Regions from separate parts of the Homo sapiens genome. Here region 2 is linked to region 1. The links are contacts of gene promoters, found by promoter capture Hi-C in human tissues and cell types (Jung and others, 2019). All regions are on one chromosome and are shown on one strand. The core of a region is centred on a gene start or on the middle of the fragment in contact, and the rest is flanking DNA. Distances in the headings are between cores, read along the strand shown.

Region 1 (7,717 bases), core at 1,352-3,851:
GGTCATACTCCAATGCCCCCATATTCTTTAGAAACCACTCTGGTTTCTAAAGGGAAGTGTTAATCAAGTTTAGCCTAAAGCTGCCTCCTTACATATTTAAGTTCAGCCTAAAGGTTTTTCTGTACATCGTGAACAAGTGGAGGAGTAAACCAACCATAGCCCACACCTGTGCCAATCGCTGAGTTTTGGCCAATCAAATGTAGCCAATTGTTTGAACAGTGTTCAAATAAGGCAAACACCAACCTGTAACCAATAACAGCTGTTTCTGCACCTCACTTCTGATTTCTGTACATCATTTCCTTTTTTTTTTTTTGTCTACAAATCCTCCACCACATGGCTGTGCTGGAGTCTCTCCAAATCTGCTGTGATTCTGGGGGCTGCCCGATTTACGAATCAAAAGTTCATTGCTCAATTAAACTCCTTTAAATTTAATTTGGCTAAAGTTTTTCTTTTAATAGAAGCCAGGGCTGAAGATAAAGATTAGGGAATGATTCACAAATCTCTTTATAACTCTGGGGAGGGCAGACAGGAAGAGACTAGAATAACAGAAAAGAGTCAAACTCAAAATCTGAGGGATTGCCTATATTTAATTACGGACAGAGTGAGAGAAACTAGTGGAAAATTCTGAAAGTAAGTGATCAGATCGTATAAAGAGAATTAAAAGAGAGGTGCAGAAAAAAAGTTTTAAAAGCTTCAGCACCTTAAAGCAGGACAAATACTGAGATGAAGTAATTGAATTTGATCAGTAAGAGATAAGAGGATATTTTACACTGTTATCCAGTTTGGTAGACACCGGCCACTTGTGGCTACTTAAGTTTAATTGAAACTAAAATTTAAACATTCAAAATTCATTTCCTTAGTCATACTAGCCACATTTGAAATGCTCATAAGCCACACGTTAACTAGTGTCTATTATGTTGGACAGCTCAAACTATAAAATATTTCCATCATTGCAGAAAGCTCTATGGGGATGTGTTTTTGAAAGCATCCAGTAGTGCAGAAGCAGAATTGCAATGGGGAGATTTCCTGTGTGTCCTCTTATACTCATGTAGCTTGCAATGTCTGGTGGATTTGACCTCTCCAGCTTGCACTTGCCTCCTCATTTTTACTATTAAGTTTTGGTCTCACCCTTTCTTTCCTAGACTATTGCAATGCTTGCCTATCTGCCTCTTCTGTTCTTTCATGTTTGTAACCTATTCTCCACACAAATCATTCCGCCACTCAACAGCACTCTTTTTTCACTGCCACTTTTCCTGGTCAGCCAGCTATTTTATTGTTAGTCCACTGTGGTGCACTGCAGATAGGGGCCATTGTATCAACAACATGGGAAGGTGATTCCTCTTCCCCTACACCTTTCCCTCCCTGCACTCACATAGCTCATAAACCAATGCAGGTAGAAGGATTATGGTACATTTATATAACAAATAACAGAGCAGGAACAACTGCTAATCATCACCCTCTCCTTTGTCTTTTACTTATGATCTGTTACCAGCTCTTTTTTCTTTCCCTCTGCCACTACTGGGCTTGTTAATATTTCGTTACTTTTCACTTCATCAGTCATCTTCTAGTCTCTCCTCCCACTTGCCACAAGAAGCTCTGGTCATATCATTTCATTTCTCTAACCTTCCTCCCTGCAACTCCCACTCTGCAGGCCTACAGAATTCTGTCTTGCTTCCTTCACCATTCTTCCACACATCTTTCTATTACTCTGTGGTACTCACCATTCCCCTGGCACATTCATGCATATTCACTTCCTTCCCTCCCGCCCATGCAATGCCATCTTTCAGACCCCAGGATCCTCTCCCATATCTCTGTGAACCCTGAATATCTGAGACAGGTCTCAGACAATTTAGGAAATTTATTTTGCCAAAGTTAAGGACGCCCGCCCGTGACACAGCCTCAGGAGGTCCTGATGATATGTGTCCAGGGTGGTCGGGGCACAGCTTGGTTTTATACATTTTAGGGAGACATGAGGCATCAATCAATATATGTAAGATGAACATTGGTTCCGTCCAGAAAGGAGGGACAAATTGAAGCAGAGGCGGGCCAACTCAAAGTGAGGAGGGGGCTTCCAGGTCGCACGTATTACAGCTGAGAGACAAATGGTTGCATTCTTTTGAGTTTCTGATGAGCCTTTCCAAAGGAGGCAATCAGATATGCATTTATCTCAGTGAGCAGAGGGATGACTCAGAGGGATGACTTTGAATAGAATGGGAGGCAGGTTTGCCCAAGCAGTTCCTAGCTTGACTTTTCCCTTTAGCTTAGTGATTTTGTGGCACCAAGATTTATTTTCCTTTCTCACCTCTAATAAGATTCAGGAGGAAATATGCACGAAGAATAGAAGGTGCCAGGGGACATTGCTGAAAGACCAAAGGGCCCAAACCTGTTTGACCTTGTCCATTTGGAGAGCAACAGATAAAAATATAGCTGCACTACCAATTATTACTACTCCCCCCAAAAAGACAACTGAATTTTCAGTGTAACAGACAGCACTTTACAAAGACACTTGGTCGAAAAAGGGTCACTCCCGGGCTCTGGGAGGCGAAGAGGACTGTGGGAGCGCTGTTCGTTGTCCCGCGGGCTCATGGGAAATGTAGTGCAGTTTTCTCCAACATGGCCGCGCCCAGGGGAGATGGCGTGCAAGTATCCGCTGCGGTGTTCTGGTGCTAGAGTGGAGAGGCTGGCAAAGAAGAAGGCACACGCATGGTGAGAATCCGGCCTGAGCCGAAGCGGAGGTGTGTGGCACTTCTTACTGGCGGGCATACGGGCAGCAAATCACCGCTTCCTCTTTTCAGCCTCTTCCGGTCTTCTCTATCCGCCTTGCCAGCTAGGGCTGAGAACCTAGGGAAAGGGGATGGATCCCAGAGGCGCCCTTGGTGCAGTGTGGGCAGTAGGGTGTCTGCGTTGGGTGGTTCTCTCAGTGTTTAGGGTGCATGTGTTTGTGTTTGGTTCGGGCGCTCACGTGGTGCCTGTGTCAATCTTCTGTTTTCTTTGGGGTTGGAGAGGACGGTTGCAACATGGGGCGTGTTAGTGTGGCGCTTCTGGGGCTTTTCTGACCGGTGACAATCGGTCTGATTGCATCGATGCAAAGGCAGTGCTGATGATCTGATCCCTTGCGCAGCTGAGTCTTCCTGTGCTCTTATTTGAGCAATCCCTGCGACTCCTGGACCTCTGGTAGCGTCAGCCTGTTATTTTGATAGATTTCATTGAATATTTATTGTCAGTTGTATGTCAGGCACCAAGTCTGTGCCCTTAAATAGATGACAGTTTTCTGGCCGAAGCCCAACACAAACAGGCAATTATAATACCATGTGAGAACTCTAGAGATAGAGGTCCATGCTAGGTGTTAATGAAAACGTTGAAGAAGGCCACCAAACTCAGAATTCTGGAGGAGGGGAGGTTTAGGAGGTAAGACAGCAAAGTCGATTTAGGTTTATTCGACAAATGGTTATTGAGTGGCTGCTAGGTGCTAAATCCTGTTTAAGTGCTGGGTGCTACAGGGTGAACAATAGAGACAAAATCTCTACTTCATGGAGTGAGTGTTCTTTATTCAGTTATGGGGAAAGACAGAATAAACAAATTAATGAGAGTGTAAGAAAATATGTAGTAAGTGTTATTCAAAGAGTTAAAACGGGGTGCCGTGACAAGTGATGGGGTGAATTTTTTTCTAAAAATTTTAAATCTTTATTTTCTTTTTAAATAGATGATGCAGTTTAAATAGCTACTAACTTCAAAAGTCATGAAAGAAGAAAGCTCCCTTTCATTCCTTTACTCATCGATCCATTTTCCTTCCCTGGAGGCAACCCATATCACCAATTTCTTGTGTGTCCTAAAGATTTATATGTAAACTCTGTATACCAGTGCCGTACGTTAAAATTGGGCCTCGTTTGATAGGAAGTTAGATTCTTTCTAATCTTTGCTATTAATTATTAGGTTGTGCAAAAGTAATCATGGTTTTTGCATTTTTTTAAACATATAAGTATAGGAACATTTGTCTATACTGCTTGTTTCATAATAGGCTCTCTATTATTCAAGGAGGGCATGATGTACATACTACTATTACCACGTAGGGCAATATCTAGTAGGATATATTGGCTTTAAACTCACTAACAAGCAAGTAGCAGAGCATGCATAATCTCCAAACTTTCATTATCCCACAGAGAGTACGCTTAGGCTGGAGCTGGCTGAACCGGACTCAGCATGGCTAGTATCATAGTTAATAGTGACTTCACTCCAGTAATGTCACAGGGAGCATCCAAGTATCTGTGCATTAGTGGAAACTCTGGCCAGGGAAGTGGCTTTGTCAGAAGGGGGCACCTCCAGACCTCAGCAGCTGGTATCAGCCTATCCTTGTTGAGATGACTCAGATATGTTGGGCCAGCACATTGCCTAGCCACTGGAATGGTGGAAAACTGAGCCTCAAAGGCCATTTAGTGTCTTTCTTCACGTGCAATAATATTGCATGACTGAGGGAGAGAAAAAGGAAAGGGATGACAAAAATGTGGTTATGAGGCTCCACCTGCTGGTGCTGGACTCTTAGTGGCAGACATTTTAAAAAGATATATTTAGCATCGTTTCTTTCTCATTCCTTCTTTGCAGTGTTTGCTCATGTGAAATATTAAAAATTCTGTAGTGCAGTCATCCCTTGTTCTCCATGACATACTGCAAAGTTGCTGTTCCACAGATGAAGATCTTGAAATGGAATGGCTCTAAAATAGCTCCTTTGAAGGGCCTCAGATATTCTTTGTTTTGTTAAGCCATTTTGATCTGCTGCTTCTGAAAATCAACAGTAATAAATAAATAATAATAAATAAATTTAATTCTAAGAAAGCTATGGGATAGGCACTATTATTTTTATCCCTATTCCTAGATAAAGAAACTGGAACACAGAGCTATATAACCAACTCATCTAGGATTATACAGCTAATAATCAGTGGTTGAGCTGAGATTTGAACCTGGAACATGGACTCCTAAACACTGTATTATATTACCTCATAGCACTGAATGAGGCTCTGTGGTAACTAAGAAAAGTGTGATTTAATCCCGCCTTCAGAAAGCTCACAGTTCAGTGGAAGGGGACAGATACTAAAACAAATAATTATAATTAATGCAATGTTAGACATGTCCATTCACTTATCCCCTTCCTGTCTTAATGACGACTGACTCCTAAACCTTTTTAACCTCAGTTCCTTTCCTAGGAGCCACTTTATTTTGTCACTTGCCAGCCAGACATTGCAACTCTGTATCTCACAATACCTTAAACATTATTCTATCCTAAATATGACTCATTACCTCCTATACTGAGCAGCTCTTCCTGAACCTCCTCCTGACTTTCCAGTTTTGAAGTGGTAGCACTCATCTCTTAGTCACTCAGCCTCTAACTGGTTAACAAGTAATCTTTGATTCCTGTCTCCCTCATATCTGGGTAGTCATCGAGGCCTCTTGATTCCGCCTGAACTTTTCACTCACCCTTCCTCTTTCTCCTCTCCCCCTATTTCGCTTCTTTCTGTTGCCCCCAGCCTAGATCAGGCCAGCATTTCTAATTAACAAGCTGGATTATTATTATTATTTTTTTTACCTCTCATCTCTCTGCTATGCTGCCAGCCAGCCTGCCTGCCTCACTGGCCTTACATCCTAGTATGTACCCCCTGTGCTAGGAAGCTGGACTGCTGGCATTTTAAGAGACTTGGCATTTGTCTTCTATACTAAAGATTAGTAATTAGAATTTTGACTGTTTATGATTTCATGTGAAATAAGATAAATAAGATTTTATTTAACCCCCAAATTTGTATATTTGGTTGACTTTGAAGACTTTAAAGTCCGCAGAGAGTGGGACCGGTCTAAAAAAATTATGCCTGTGTCTTGGTGTCTTGGCCAAACATGTCCATTTTGGTTTTAGCTTCTGCTCTTTACTGCCTCACTGAATACTTTCCTTTTTATTTGATTCTATAGTGTTCTTATCCTTCAGTACATGGCACAAATCTCCTGTTTTGAGGCCTTCCCAACTTTTCCAGTTTACATACTTTTTTTTTTTTTTTGAGATGGAATTTCACTCTGTTGCCAGGCTGGAGTGTAGTAGCATGATCTTGGCTCACTGCAACCTCTGCCTCCCGGGTTCAAGCGATTCTCGTGCCTCAGCCTCCCAAGTAGTTGGGACTACAGGTGCCCACCACCACACGTGGCTAATTTTTTGTACTTTTAGTAGAGACAGAGTTTCACCATGTTGACCAGGCTGGTCTTGAACTCCTGACCTCAAGTGATCTGCCTGCCTTGGCCTCCTAAAGATTACAGGTGTGAGTCACTGCTCCCAGCCCACATCCATCTTATTTTTGTCTCTAATTTGTGTCATACCTAAAGACTGTACCATCAGCATTAAATTATATAAAGATGTGTCATAGTCTTATTGTTTAGTGTTTGTTTTCCACAACTAAGTTACAAACTTGTTGAAAGCATAAACTATGTACTTTATTATGGTTGCATGCTGCAGGGTGCTGAGACTGTGTGTATTCACTCATTTATTATTCATTTAGCCCTACCATCAAATATTTATTGAGCAACTACTATGTGCTGGCATTCCTGCTCTCTTGGGATTTATATCATGATGGAGGAGTTAAGCTAACAGATGAATCATCACAAATTATGTTACATTTTGTGAACAAAATAAAAGACTACTGTGATAAAGTGTGATAAAGCATGATATTGGGTGCTGATTTGGATGGTGTGATTATAGAGACCTCTTTGGGATTCTGTTATTTAAAAAATTGTAGATATAAAATATATGACACATACAGTTTTTAAAATAGTAAAACAAACACCTACACCTACCATGTAACTGAAGAAACACCCTTTGATGCTCCTATGTGTCACTTTCATGTTAATTTCCTTTCCTTTCACCCACAGAAATAGCCTCTCTCCTGAATTTTGTGTTTATAATTTCCTTGCTTTTTTTTTTGGCACTGCTATGTATGTATTTCTAAATAATATATGGCTTACTTTTTGATTATGACCTTTATGTAAATGGAATCATACTGTAGAGTCTGCTAATTTTTTGTGTGTTATTTCTCCCCCCACCGCTCCCCTGCCTGCTCCTTGCCTTGGTTTACGTTATAGTTGTGAAATTTGTGTATGGCACATTTTACTTAGGACCTCATAAGTAAAGAATTCATCACCTATGAGTAAAATAGCACACTTAATGGAGCTACCACATTGGAACATTTTTTAGAACCATCAGAGCTATGCTATTAGATATTCTTAGATATTTGTTCATTTTTTATTTATCTGTTCTCACTTCTCTTAGTTGGTACAAGGTAAATGAAGCATTTTTAAAAAATTGTCACAGAAATATTGATAAACTATAGAATGTATGAATAACATCATTATAATTGTTCCTTCAGGACTCTTAAGGTTGACTTTTTTACTGTCTTGTTTTTTTACAGTTTGCTATGGACAGCAACCATCAAAGTAATTACAAACTCAGTAAAACTGAGAAGAAGTTCTTAAGGAAACAGATTAAAGCCAAGCATACTTTGCTGAGACATGAAGGCATTGAGACAGTATCCTATGCCACTCAGGTGACCTAAAACTACTATTATTATTAGAATGTAAATGTACTGACATGTTAATGTATTATATTAATATTTGCTAATAATTGCCTAAGGCTGTAATTGTTCAGTCATGTGTTACATCCATATTAGAGGTACATATGATATGAACTGCT
Region 2 (6,616 bases), core at 3,712-6,211, 300 kb before region 1:
TATAATCCCAGCACTTTGGGAGGCCGAGGCAGGCGGATCACCTGAGATTGGGAGTTTGAGACCAGCCTGACCAACGTGGAGAAACCCCATCTCTTCTAAAAATACAAAATTAGCCGGGTGTGGTGGTGCATGTAATCCCAGCTACTCAGCAGGCTGAGGCAGGAGAATCGCTTGAACGTGGGAGGCAGAGGTTGCAGTGAGCCGAGATGGCGCCATTGCACTCCAACATGGGCAACAAGAGCAAAACTCTGTCTCAAAAAAAAAAAAAAAAAGAAAGAAAACAAAAAACAAACAAAAAAAATTATTTTACACACACATGAAAAACATTTATCAAAATTGACCATGTACTAGGTCTTAAAACTTATCTCGCTATTTTCAAAATATTGAAAGTATCAGGTCAGGTCAGGTATGGTGGCTCACACTTGTAATCCCAATGATTTGGGAGGCCAGGAGTTCTAGACCAGCCTGGGCGACATGGAGAAAACCAGTCTCTACAAAAAATTTAAAAATTAGCCAGGTGTGGTGGTGCTCGCTTGTAGTCCCAGCTACTCCAGAATCTGAGGCAGAAACATCCTGTGAGCCCATGAGTTTGAGGCTGCAGTGAGTTATGACTATACCACTGCACTCCAGCCTGGGTGACAGAGTGAGACCCTATCTCTAAAAAAAAAAAAAGTATCATATAGCCTACATTATCATACAATTAAGTTAGAAATCAACTATAGAAAATAATTAAAAACTTGGCCAGGTGCAGTGGCCCACGCCTGTAATTCTAACACTTTGGGAGGCTACGGCATGTGGATCACCTGAGGTCAGGAGTTCAAGACCAGCCTGGCCAATATGGCGAAACCCCCTCTCTACTAAAAATACAAAAATTAACCAAGTGTGGTGGCTTATGCCTATAGTCCCAGCTACTCAGGAGGCTGAGGAGGGAGAATCACTTGAACCTGGGCGGCAGAGGTTGCAGTGAGCCGAGATCGCGCCACTGCACTCCAGCCTGGCGACAGAACGAGACTCCGTCTCAAAAAAAAAAAAAAGTTAAAAACTCTTATTATGCTTGGAAATTAAGGGATGTGTCTTTCCAACTCACGAGTCAAAGAAGAAGTTATAATGGAAACTGGAAAATACGTAGAAGTGAATGATAGTAAAGCCATTATCAAAACTCGTGAGAGGCAACTCAAAATTAATGAGTTTAGAACGCAGTTTAAGGAGTTAGGGAAAAAGCAACATAAGCCCAAATAATGTAGAAGGAAGGAAATAATATAAATTGGAACAAAAATTACTGAAGTAGGGCAAGGGTCGGTGGCTCAAACCTGTAATCTTAGCACTTTGGGAGGCCGAGACGGCAGATAGCTTGACCCCACGAGTTGGAGACCAGCCTGGGCAACCCAGTCTGTACAAAAGATACAAAAACAGCCAGGCATGGCAGCTGGCACCTGTGGTCCCAGCTACTTGGGAGGCTGAGGTGGGAGGATCACCTGAGCCTGGGAGTTTGAGGCTGAAGTGAGCCATGTTCATGCCACTGCACTCCAGCCTAGGTGAGACTCTATCTCAAAAATAAATAAATAAATAAGTAAATAAATAAAATATAGAGAGGATTAAAAAAGAGTTCCCAGAGGAAGGAATCCCTTTGCTTACTGTTGAAGGATAAGACTTCTCCTTAATCTAATGGAAAGGTATAGCTGTGCAAAATGGCATGTTGTAGTTCACGAGCTGTAAGTAACTTGGTCTGGCTAGAGGGATAGTGGTTGTTAAGTGGGTGCAGAAGAGTGAAGAAAGGAAAAGGCAGTGAGAGAGGCACTGAGATTAATACATTAAAATTCATGGAAGATGTGTATGAAAAGATAAATATATGTTTTTGGGAGGTCACTTTATGATTTAGCTTCTTTTGAGTGCTAACATGATTCTCAAGATACTTATGGGGCTGTTCTCCATAGATGGGCAGGAAATTCTCTGTGGGTGGGAGAACACAATATAAGTAATCTAAGAACAAGATAATTTTAGATAATTTCTGTATGAGTTTGTTAGGGTTGCCATAACAAGATATAACAGACTGAGTGGCTTAAACACATTTATTTTCTCACAGTCTTGGAGGTTAGAAGTCTGAAATCAACATGGTGGCAGAATTGGCTTTTTTGTTGAGACAGAGTTTCGCTCTCGTGGCCCAGGCTGGAGTGCAATGGGGCGGTCTCTGCTCACTGCAACCTCCGCCTCCCAGATTCAAGCGATTCTCCTGTCTTGGCCTCCCGTGTAGCTGGAACTACAGGCATGTGCCACCATGCCCGGCTAATTTTGTATTTTTAGTAGAGATGGAGTTTCTCCATGTTGGTCAGGGTGGTCTTGAATTCCTGACCTCACGTGATCCGCCGGCCTTGGCCTTCCAAAGTGCTGGGATTACAGTCGTGAGCCACCGCGCCAAGCCAGAACTGGTTTCTTTTGAAGCATCTCTCGTCGCTTGTACAGGGCCATCTCTCTGTGTTTTCACATGGTCTTTCCTCTGTAACTGTCTGTGTCTTAATTTCCTCTTGTTATAAGGATACTAGTTATATTGGATTAGGGCCTACCCTAATGTCTTCATTATAACTTAATACCTCTAAAGACTTCGTCGCTGCAATCACATTCTGAGGCACTGGAGGTTAGGACTTCAACATATGAATTTTGGTAGACCTCATTATAGCCCTCCGTCCACCTCTCCTCCAAATTCATACGCTCACCCTGTTCTAACTGTGCCAGAAATCTTAACTCATTTCAGCATCAAGTGTAAGCACAAAATATAATCTAAATCAGGTATGAGTGAGACTCATAGGAGTTATGATTTGTCCTGAGGCAAAATTCCTCCCCAGCTGTGAATCTATAAAACCAGACAAGTTATCTGCTTCCAAAATACAATGATGGCATAGGCATAGCATAGTCTTTCCCATTCCAAAAGTCAGAAATAAAAAATAAATCCCAGCCGGATGCGGTGGCTCATGCCTATAATCCCAGCACTTTGGTGGCCGAGGCGGGTGGATCACCTGAGCTCAGGAGTTCGAGACCAGCCTGGCCAATATGGCGAAACCCTTTCTTTATTAAAAAAGCAAACATTAACCAGACCTGGTAGCTTATTATGCCGGTAGTCCCAGCTACTCAGGAGGCTGAGGAGGGAGAATTGCTTGAACCCAGGAGGCGGAGGTTGCAGTAAGCCAAGATCATGCCACTGCACTCCAGCCTGTGTGACAGAGCGAGACTCTGTCTCCAAAAAACAAACAAACGAACAAAAAAAGACTAAGGCTCCAGAATAATCTTTGGCTTGATGCTCTGTCCTCGGCCCACCAGCGTGGTGGTCCACCCCCTCAGCCCTGGGTGACTTCAATATATACATTTCTGGGCAGGGGGCGGTGCACAATTCAGCCCCCAACAATACCTATGATGAAAATGTAACCTATCAATTTGATAGGGAGAGACTGGGAACCAGTGGATTAAGTCAAGGACATCTTCTCTAAGGAGGCAACACTGGACCTAAGACTATGCTTAGATCTGAAGGCAGATTATTCCGGGCAGAGGAAATGAGACAATAGAAATAAAGGGAAAGAGAAAGAACACAGTATGCAGGTTGAAGAGTTAGGCAGCGCATTTAAGCTAGAGCAAGGAGCCTAAATTTCATGCTAAATACAACAGGCAGGCATTGTAGGCTTATAAGCAGGGGAGAGTGACCTTATTTCGTAGGGATTTTGGGTAATGGACTGTAGGAGGCAAGAATAGAATAAGTAGGAAGATATACCAGTCTGTTGCAGCATATAGGCCACAGATTTTGGTGGTTTGGCCTATGGTGGTGAAGACAGAGAAAAGGGAATGGATTTCAGATATATTTTGAAAATGAATATAAAAACTGGGCTGGGCGTGGTGGCTCATGCCTGTAATCCCAGCACTTTGGGAGGCTGAGGTGGGTGGATCACCTGAGGTCAGGAGTTCAAGATCAGCCTGACCAATATGGTGAAACCCTGTCTCTACTAAAAATACAAAAATTAGCCAGGCGTGGCGGCGTGTGACTGTAGTCCCAGACACTAGGGAGGCTGAGACAAGAGAATTGCTTGAACCCGGGAGGCCGAGGTTGCAGTGACCCGAGATCGTGCCGCTGTACTCCAGCCTGGGTGACAGAGCGAGACTCTGTCTCAAAAAAAAAAAAAAAAAAAAAAGGAAAGACTGGCTATTGAATTGAATGAGAGAAATAAGAGAAAAGGAGAAACCATGTATGATCCCTAGATTCTTTTATTTTTAAAATTAATTTTTTTTCCATAGAAATGAGGTCTTACTTTATTGCTTGTTTCAAACTCCTGGCCTCAAGTGATCCTCCCAGCTCAGCCTCCCAAAGTGCTGGGATTACAGGCATGAGCCACCATGCCTGGCAGATCCCTAGTTTCTTAGTTTGAGAACTGATAGATTGAAGTGCTTTATGTTGCAATGGGTGTAAGTGAGGAAAGTAAGAAATGGAGGAACAGAGAGAGTTTTGTTTGGGCTGTGTTTGAGATGCCTTTAAGACTTCCTAGTGGATATGGCAAGTCAGCAATTATATATACAAATGTGAAGCTCAGGGGAAGCCTGTGCTGGAGCTAAAAAAGTCAGGGAGTCATTAGCCTATGGTTGGTATTTTAAACCACTGCATTAGACAAAAAGGGACTGCTATGGTTAATGACACAGTTTAAAACTTCTCAAGATGATTTTTTGTTTTTCTCTTTTGTGTTTTTATTTTTTGTACAACCTATATTTGTTTCCTTTTCATTTTCCCTTCAGTACTTATTTTAGAAGTTAGATGACCTCAGGAAAAGGGATTCAGGCAATGGTACCTGGAAAAGAGGTGAAGTGAAGAGAAATCTTTCAGGACTGTAAGCAGAAAAGAAGGGGTGAAGTGGGAGCTGGCTGGGACCAAGGGATAATCAGGAATAAGCTCATTTCTTGGAGCCTTTACTCCTCAATTAAATAATAAGGTTAGGCTGGGCATGGTGGCTCATGCCTTTTTGGGGGTTTTGGGGAATGGAGTCTCACTGTGTCACCCAGGCTGGAGTACAGTGGTGTAAACTCGGCCCACTGCAACCTCTGCCTCCCAGGCTCAAGCTTTTTTTTTTTTTTTGAGGCAGAGTCAGTCTCACTCTGTCACCCGGGCTAGAGTGCAGTGGTGCGATCTCAGCTCACTGCAACCTCTGCCCCCTGGGTTCAAGCAATTCTCCTGCCTCAGCCTCCCAAGTAGCTGGGATTACAGGCACCCGCCACCACACCCCGCTAATTTTTGTATTTTTAGTAGCAACAGGGTTTCACCATGTTGGCCAGGTTGGTCTTGAACTCCTGACCTTAGGTGATCCACCCTTCTTGGCCTCCCAAAGTGCTGGGATTACAGGTGTGAGCCACTGCACCCGGCCTAGCTCAAGCTCTTTTAATCCCAACACTTTCAGAGGCCAAGGCAGGAGGACCACTTGAGCCCAGGAGTTCAAGTCCATTCTGGGCAACATGGAGAAACCCCATCTCTACAAAAAATACAAGAAATTAGCTGAGCATGGTGGTGTGCACCTGTGGTCCCAGCTATTTGGAAGGCTGAGGTGGGAGGATCACTTGTGCCTGAGGAAGTTGAAGCTGCAGTGAGCCGTGATCACACCACTGCAATCCAGTCTAGGTGAGAGAGTGAGACCTTGTCTCAAAAAAAAAAAAAAAAAAAAAAAAAGAAAGCTGGGCGCGGTGGCTCACGCCTGTAATCCCAGAACTTTGGGAGGCCAAGGCGGGTGGATCACGAGGTCAGGAGTTCAAGACCAGCCTGGCCAACACAGTGAAACCCCGTCTCTACAAAAAATACAAAAATTAGCTGGGCATGGTGGCAGGTGCCTGTAATCCCAGCTACTCCGGAGGCTGAGGCAGGAGAAAAGCTTGAACCCGGGAGGCCGAGGCTGCAGTGAACCCAGATCGCACCACTGCACTCCAGCCTGGGCGACAGAACGAGACTCTGTCTCAAAAAAATAAATAAATAAATAAATAAATAAAATAAAAATAAGGGCAGTTAGGGTTGTGCAAAGTACTTTCCTCTCTATTAAATTGTAAACAATATGAAGACAAGAACCAAGTCTTAATTACTCCTACATTCTTCGTGCCATCTAGCATGGGGCCCTGAACATAGTAGGTGTTCTAAAATGTTTTTGGAGGGAAAGAAGGAAGGAAAGGTTGATGGAAGAGTAAAAGTATCTTTCACATATTGAATATCAGAGAGCACATCTAGAAATGTGGTCTGCTCATAATTTGCATTCAACCAATATATAGTTGATTGATTTGTAATGTGTCCTATAATAAGATAATGGTAATAAGGCTAATTCTCTAAACAAAGTTGCCATCTAAGCAGATAGTATTATTGATTCCCTCTGCTTAATGACAGGTAATTCTGACTTTTTTTTTTTTTTTGAGACGGAGTCTCACTCTGTCGCCCAGGCTGGAGTGCAGTGGTGCGATCTCAGCTCACTGCAAGCTCCGCCTCCCAGGTTCACGCCGTTCTCCTGCCTCAGCCTCCCGAGTAGCTGGGACTACAGGCACCCACCACTGTGCCCAGCTAATTTTTTGTATGTTTAGTAGAGACGGGGTTTCACTGTGGTCTCGATCTCCTGAC

The links. The method cuts DNA at HindIII sites, captures the fragments that hold promoters and counts their contacts. A contact is called where the count stands out against the background at its distance.
Region 2: a fragment that was not itself captured here is called in contact with the fragment with the promoter of ALKBH8 in region 1 in 1 of the 25 tissues and cell types used here (aorta).

What each region holds. Positions count from the first base shown.
Region 1 is chr11:107,560,619-107,568,335 of GRCh38, reverse strand. It overlaps ALKBH8 (alkB homolog 8, tRNA methyltransferase), which reads left to right and starts at 2,601. Exons shown (of 12, transcript NM_138775.3): 1 at 2,601-2,735; 2 at 7,437-7,571. The coding sequence starts at 7,443. RefSeq lists enhancers at 301-380, 2,309-2,368, 2,215-2,731, 2,439-2,928, 2,732-3,250. The HindIII fragment of the contact is 10,640 bases long and covers 1-7,717 here.
Region 2 is chr11:107,867,907-107,874,522 of GRCh38, reverse strand. No RefSeq gene overlaps it. Among named protein-coding and RNA genes, the nearest start is that of SLC35F2, 12 kb to the right of the region's middle. The HindIII fragment of the contact is 6,812 bases long and covers 1,556-6,616 here.